2 separate regions of the Homo sapiens genome follow, and region 1 is linked to region 2. Evidence: promoter capture Hi-C in 16 types of primary human blood cells and fetal thymus (Javierre and others, 2016). All regions are on one chromosome and are shown on one strand. The core of a region is centred on a gene start or on the middle of the fragment in contact, and the rest is flanking DNA. Distances in the headings are between cores, read along the strand shown. Region 1 overlaps LINC02572 (long intergenic non-protein coding RNA 2572). Region 2 holds the start of GPR148 (G protein-coupled receptor 148).

The links. Contacts are between HindIII fragments. The CHiCAGO score rates a contact against its expected background, and 5 or more counts as called.
Region 1: a contact is called between a fragment that was not itself captured here and the fragment with the promoter of GPR148 in region 2, in 1 of 17 cell types (non-activated CD4 T cells). The highest score is 5.5, in non-activated CD4 T cells.

Annotation. Positions count from the first base shown.
Region 1 is chr2:129,864,028-129,867,657 of GRCh38, forward strand. LINC02572 (long intergenic non-protein coding RNA 2572) reads right to left here. Exons shown (of 6, transcript NR_149127.1): 4 at 2,135-2,227. Among named protein-coding and RNA genes, the nearest start is that of LINC02572, 12 kb to the right of the region's middle. The HindIII fragment of the contact is 2,145 bases long and covers 622-2,766 here.
Region 2 is chr2:130,726,704-130,730,361 of GRCh38, forward strand. GPR148 (G protein-coupled receptor 148) reads left to right here and starts at 2,367. Exons shown (of 1, transcript NM_207364.2): 1 at 2,367-3,633. The coding sequence starts at 2,449. The coding sequence ends at 3,492. RefSeq lists enhancers at 89-616, 938-1,517, 1,518-2,096 and a silencer at 1,000-1,169. The HindIII fragment of the contact is 6,760 bases long and covers 1,565-3,658 here.

The sequences.
Region 1 (3,630 bases), core at 444-2,943, 860 kb before region 2:
CCAAAACCATCAGATGGTAACTCATCACCAGACTGTGTCACCTGGCAATGTGCAGATGGACCAGAGGCTGAGGAAGGGAGGTTTCTGTCTGGGCACGTTAACACCCAAACAAAATCAGGATTCCATTCTTGAGGAAGAAGGGAGATGGATGTTAGAAGGACAACTAGCCAAGCTAGGAGTTTAAAGGTTTTATGTTATACCAGATGGGTCTGAGAGGGACTGGGAAAATATTGGAGTCTACCCAAAACACCCAGAGAGACCATTAAAGGGGCAGAGGGAAGGTTGTAGATCCGATGTGGGGCCTGCTTGCCCAACACAGTAAGACCGGGTATCCACATGGGTTCTGCCGTGGCAGAAAGGAAGGCATTTATTTGCAAGGCACAAAGCAGGACGACCAGCAGCGAATGTTTAAATTCTGACTTCCCCAATGGCTTGCCCAAAAGGTTTCTAAAGGCAAGGGTAAATCTCACGAAAGCAAAGGTGATAGGCAAAATCTAAGTCAGTACATGGGAGTTACACATTGGTTTTGGCCCAAAAAGACGGGATATCTTAAAACAACGGGCTTACATGTCACAGGTAAATTCAAAGATTTTCTGATTTATAATTAGTTAATGAAAAAGAAGCTTTGTTTACAAATTTGAGGTCATCAGACAAGAATGTTAGCTCTGGCTGGTGGGTGTGACTCCCTCCAGGCCCTTCAAGAAGAAATTTAGAACAAATAATTCAGGTCTAGAATTCAGTCTTCAGGTCCCCCTTCCCAGAGGCCTATGTGCCACAGATCTGTTTGATGGGGGTCCAGATTTCTGAAAAACAACTCTGGGACATATGTTAAGATGGTATCTTTAGTTTCTATAGGGAACCAGGCATCTGACTCTAACTTCCCTGGCGGTTGTTTTAGACTACTCTACTACTATCTTTTTACTCATCAAGTTGCTCATTTACTTCTCAGGGCTAGCTGGGTACCTGGAATTTCCCTTAAAGGAACTCAAGATTTTCCTTTATTTCCATGCTTGGGGGGCCCTAAAATGGGGTCCCTGCTCTGTCCCAGGAAAATGAAAAAATGTGTGGCTTGCTTTTATCCTACCAGGTATAGTCAGTACAACAAAATGGTTAAATAATATTCACTTAGAAACATTTTTCTGGAATCCAGTGAAGATCATCAGGCCGAAAAAATCCCCAAACCAAAAGATATGCCTGAATAGAAGCATGTGGAAACTGCCCCATTTATAGCCCTCGAATTCATTCTTCAATTTTAAGTGTTTTACTTTCACAGCCTTCAAAAGCCACGTTCCCATTTAGAGAAGAAACTCTCTTAAAGGGAGTATTTTTTTTGCCCAAGATCTCTCTCCTGATAAAGTGCCCCAGGGAGATCTTATGCCACTTTTCATCTTTCACAAGAGGTCAAGAAACTCCCAGGAAGAGCTGGCTCTCAACCATGGGCCCACGCTTTCGGTATGTGCAGCCCCCACACGTGTGAACTTGCCTGCTCCCCTGCACCAGGGGTCTCCCCTCCAGAAACAGAAGGGAGGTTTCCCCATCAACCCTGCTTTTAAAAAAAAAGGTGGGGGGCGGGGAATCACTTAGTTGGACCTGACTTTCTTTTCTTTCTTTTTTTTTTTTTTTTGACATGGAGTTTCACTCGTCACCCAGGCTGGAGTGTAATGACAGGATCTCAGCGCACTGCAACCTCTGCCTCCCAGGTTCAAGTGATTCTCCTGTCCCAGCTGCCCAAGTAGCTGGGATTACAGGCACCTGTCACCATGCCCAGCTAATTTTTATATATATTTTTTTTTAGTAGAGATGGGGTTTCACCATGTTGGCCAGGCTGGTCTCGAACTCTTGACCTCAGATGATCCGCCCATCTCGGCCTCCCAAAGTGCTGGGATTACAGGCATGAGCCACCGTGCCCAGCCCCCAGACCTGACTTTCTAAATAAATCATTCCTGTTAGCAGGCCTCAGAACCACGCCATGCACCCAGTCACCCATCTGTTCAAAGTGAAGTGCAAGAGTCCTGAGCACGGCGTCAATGCTCCGCACCTCGAAGCGTCATTCCTAACCCACACAGCCAGGAAAATGAAAATGAGGCTTCTTTCCCCATTGTACCATGAGACGGCTGAAGCTAAGGTCGGTTACCTCATCCAAGGTCATCCAGACAAGCGAAGGGAGGCAACGGTCCACATTCCTTCCACTGCCCCACACACTTCCCTACACATCACGTATGATTTCCTGGGGGGAAACAAAGAAAAATAAAAGAAAATATTGCATCTATCTTATGCTAATAAATGCCCAGTATACCACTGCATCTCCTCCTCTTCATGAATACCCAGTTCCCAATAGTAGCCCCTATTACAGCAGCTCCTAGGTTCTTGTGTCTGGTGAAGCTAGCAAAAATCTTACACACTTAAAAGATGCAGAAGCACAATCCCAAAATTTTCACTGAGAGAAAAATTGAATTTTTAGAGCCAGGTTAGTTTTTTGTTCATTTGCGTTTTGAGACATAGTCTCTACTCCACCCAGGCTAGAGTATGGTGACACAATCTCAGCTAACTGCAACCTCCGCCTCCTGGGCTCAAGCGATCCTCCCACCTAAGCCTTCCAAGCTATCCTCCCACCTAAGCCTTCCAAGCAACTACAGCTATGCACTATCACACCTGGCTAATTTTTTCTTTCTTCTTTTTTGTTTTTTTGTTTTTTTGTAGAGATGGGGCCTACAGGTCATAGGTAGATTAAAAGATTTTCTGATTTGCAATTAGTTAATGAAAAGAAGCTTTGTTTATAAATTTAGGGTCCATCAGGAAAGAATGTTAGCTCTGGCTCACATGTGTGACTCCCTCCAGGCCCTTCAAGAAGAAATTTAGAACAAAGGATGGTAGTCCAGAATTCAGTCTTCAGTTCCCCCTTATCAGAGGTCTATGTGCCACAGATCAGTTCGGTGGGGGTCTGGGTTTCTGAAAAACAACTCAGGAACGTATGTCAAGATGTTAAGTTCAGTTTCTATAGGGGAACCAAGTATCTGACTCTAACTTCCACTTCCTTGGCCTGTTGTTTTAGACTACTATTACCTTCTTGCTTATCAAGCTGCTCATTTACTTCTCAGGGCTAGCTGGGTGCTAGCTTAGGCTAGTCTTGAACTCCTGAGCTCAGGTGATCCACCTGCCTCAGCTTCCCGAAGTGCTGGGATTCCAGGTGTGAGCCACTGCACCCGGCCTAGCCAGGTTTTTTGTTTTTGGGTTTTTGTTTTTGTTTTTTTTTTTTGAGATGGAGTCTCACTCTGTTGCCCAGGCTAGAGTGCAGTGGCATGATCTCTGCTCACTGCAACCTCCACCTCCCGGGTTCAAGCAATTCTCCTGCCTTAGCCTCCCAAGTAGCTGGGACTACAGGCACCCACCACAACGCCCGGCTAATTTTTGTATTTTTAGTAGAGACAGGGCTTTACCATGTTGGCCAGGCTGGTCTTGAACCCCTGACCTCAGGGGATCTGCTCACCTTGGCCTCCCAAAGTGCTGGGATTACAGGCGTGAGCCACCACACCTGCCCACCAGGTTAGTTTTTAATTAATCAGCCCATAATAGAAGAAGGAAAGAACATACCTAAGACAGATTGGCATATTAGTCATTCAGTTCCAATGC
Region 2 (3,658 bases), core at 1,117-3,616:
GCAGGCCCGTCCTGACCCATAATGATTACAGGAACGGGGCAAAGGAGTTAAAGGCTGCAGGGTCCTAACCAGGGAGGCCAGCTCTGTGACCCCAGAGCTGGCACTGGGTGACCCCACATCTGGGGTTGATTACAGTGTAGAAACTAAGGGTGGTTCTGAGAAAGCCCATCTTCCCTTTCGGAGAAACCGCGATGCCATAGGGCGGACCCCGCCTCCCTGTCCCCGCGCCCTGGGCTGCACTCCCTAGGGCCCCGGACTGCATTTTCCCAGGAGGGCAGCCTGGATAGGGAACCTCGGCAAGTGAGACCAAACTGATGTTCCCTTAGGGGCAGCACCCGCTCGGTGCTCTGAGATTGTTGTATGGGCTATTTAATTCCTAAGATGATTCTCAGCAGGAGGCAGGCTCTGTATCATCCCAGCGGCTTTTTCACCTTGGGAGTTTCGCGCTTTCCGATTCCATGAAGTTGCTGCTTGTCACCCCGTCACCGGCTATAAGGATTTAGCTCACAACCACATTTTTACTGAGGGATTGTCATTTAACGAGTTTCCCTCTCCCAGGGAATCTGCATTCTAAGACCCCAAAGGCCGGCGAGGGTCGTTGTGCTGGGCTGGACAGCAGAGAGAGGCTCGGCCTTGGCCCTCAGCCCTGCAGCACACAGGGCACCCGCGCAGAGAGCGTGGCCTGCGAATGGCTCTGCTGCCTCTCCCGGCCTGGGGCCGATTAGACCGGTCAGAGCATCTGTAAAGTACAAGGGGCCCCTAGGGAGTGCAGGCCAGGGCAGCTGGGGCAGGGAGGCGGGGTCCGCCCCATGGCATCGCGGTTTCTCTGGAAGGGGTGATGGGCTTTCTCAGAACCACCTTTAGTTTCTGTACCGTAATCGGCCAAAAAGGCGCAGGCGCTGCTGCTCCTGGCAGCTGCGTAACAGGCTCTCAGAGGAGGACGCGGTTCCGGGCTGCGGCGGGCGTGGTCCGGGGCTGTTCTGGGCGTGGTCTTTGGCTGTGATGGGCGTGGCCTTGGGCTATGGAGGGCGTGGTCCCAGGGCTGCGATGATGGTGGTCCGGGGCTGTGGTGGGCGTGGCCCCGGGCTGCGGCGGGCGTGGTCCCCGGGCTGCGGCGGACGTGGTCAGGGGCGGTTCTGGGCGTGGTCCCTGGGCTGCGGTGGACGTGGTCTCGGGCTGTGACGAGCATGGTCCCTGGGCAGCAGTGGACGTGGTCTCACACCCAGAGTCTGAAATTTCTGCCTCTTCCTGGCCCTAAAAATATCCTGCCTGTTCCCACGCGGCTCCTGCCTTCTGGAGCAGTCTGCCAGGCCGGCGGTGGGTGTTGGGCAGGGGTCTCAGGCTGCCAGCAGCCAAGTGCAGCCCGTTCTGCAGTGATGACAGGGATCTGTGGGCAGAGGGGACCGAGCCTCGGAGGATGCTGTAGGTGGGAGAGCTAACATTGACTCAGCATTTACTTCAGGCTATGCACTGTGCTGAGTCCCTTACCTCTGGGCTTCCGCAACGTTTCCCTGAGGTCAGTGTGGTTGGCATTCGTGTTTCACAGATAAGGAAACTGGAACAAAGCTTTTCAAGGCCACGCAGCCAACACCTCGAGAGAGCGGGAGAGCTTGTTCACTTGAACTGGATCCCCAAACACCAACAGCCACCCTGGCCACTGGCTCTGACTGAGCTCACCCCACCCCCGACAAGCCAGGTGCCTGGGGAACCTGCCTTCCATTCCTCCCCACTAGCTCCTATGAGGTCTCTGCCTGCCAGGCCTCCTCCTCCCCAGAGGAAGGGACGTTTCTACCACACAGCGACCCCACAAGTCAGCTGAGATTTTGGGGGCACCGAATACTCACATGGAGCCCTGAGTGGAAGGGGTGTAGGAGTCACACTCACACGCATGCACAGGGTCACCCTGAGCTGGAGACCATACCCAAGGCTCTGTGAGGAAATGTGAGTGCGCCCAGGCCCCTCCAGCCTGGTCCAATTTGCTGAGCCTCTAGCTCGACAGAGGTCAGACCAGGTCTACAGCCCAGCGATCCTAGTTCCAGACAGCTGCTCCTTCCTTTCTAGGAGGGCAGCCCGGAATATAATCCAGTGTGGTGAGAATCCATTGCACACTCCCTGTGAGCCAAGCAGACAGGTTTGGGGGCCACTGAGATAGGGGACACTTCTGGAGGGGTCAGTGACTGCAAAATGGTGGCAGTGGGATGATCTGTTATGTCTACCCACGCACATGCAGCTGCACAGTTGCAGAGATGTGAATGCAGGAAGCCAGGTGTGAGTCTGAATTCACATTGGTTTTTTTATCTTTATTAAGCAGTCATTCCTAAGGCCTGCCCGAGCCTGGCATCTCTACAGAGGAGTGGTGCCATCAGGACCCCTGTGGGGCAGATCAACACTCAAGGCAGGTGCAGAATCAACAACCTGTGACAAAGCCAGCCATCCCTGCCAGGAAGCATGGGGGATGAGCTGGCACCTTGCCCTGTGGGCACTACAGCTTGGCCGGCCCTGATCCAGCTCATCAGCAAGACACCCTGCATGCCCCAAGCAGCCAGCAACACTTCCTTGGGCCTGGGGGACCTCAGGGTGCCCAGCTCCATGCTGTACTGGCTTTTCCTTCCCTCAAGCCTGCTGGCTGCAGCCACACTGGCTGTCAGCCCCCTGCTGCTGGTGACCATCCTGCGGAACCAACGGCTGCGACAGGAGCCCCACTACCTGCTCCCGGCTAACATCCTGCTCTCAGACCTGGCCTACATTCTCCTCCACATGCTCATCTCCTCCAGCAGCCTGGGTGGCTGGGAGCTGGGCCGCATGGCCTGTGGCATTCTCACTGATGCTGTCTTCGCCGCCTGCACCAGCACCATCCTGTCCTTCACCGCCATTGTGCTGCACACCTACCTGGCAGTCATCCATCCACTGCGCTACCTCTCCTTCATGTCCCATGGGGCTGCCTGGAAGGCAGTGGCCCTCATCTGGCTGGTGGCCTGCTGCTTCCCCACATTCCTTATTTGGCTCAGCAAGTGGCAGGATGCCCAGCTGGAGGAGCAAGGAGCTTCATACATCCTACCACCAAGCATGGGCACCCAGCCGGGATGTGGCCTCCTGGTCATTGTTACCTACACCTCCATTCTGTGCGTTCTGTTCCTCTGCACAGCTCTCATTGCCAACTGTTTCTGGAGGATCTATGCAGAGGCCAAGACTTCAGGCATCTGGGGGCAGGGCTATTCCCGGGCCAGGGGCACCCTGCTGATCCACTCAGTGCTGATCACATTGTACGTGAGCACAGGGGTGGTGTTCTCCCTGGACATGGTGCTGACCAGGTACCACCACATTGACTCTGGGACTCACACATGGCTCCTGGCAGCTAACAGTGAGGTACTCATGATGCTTCCCCGTGCCATGCTCACATACCTGTACCTGCTCCGCTACCGGCAGCTGTTGGGCATGGTCCGGGGCCACCTCCCATCCAGGAGGCACCAGGCCATCTTTACCATTTCCTAGAGTTCTTGAGTCCACAGTCTGGCAAGCTGAGGTTAAAAATCATATGTTGAATGCAGCAGTGTCCACTTATGACTAACTTCTTAGAACAGCACAATATAATAGTGGAATTGGGCCTTTCAGAAGACCTCAACTGATGATTTTCACCATTTTGACAGTTTTTAAGTAG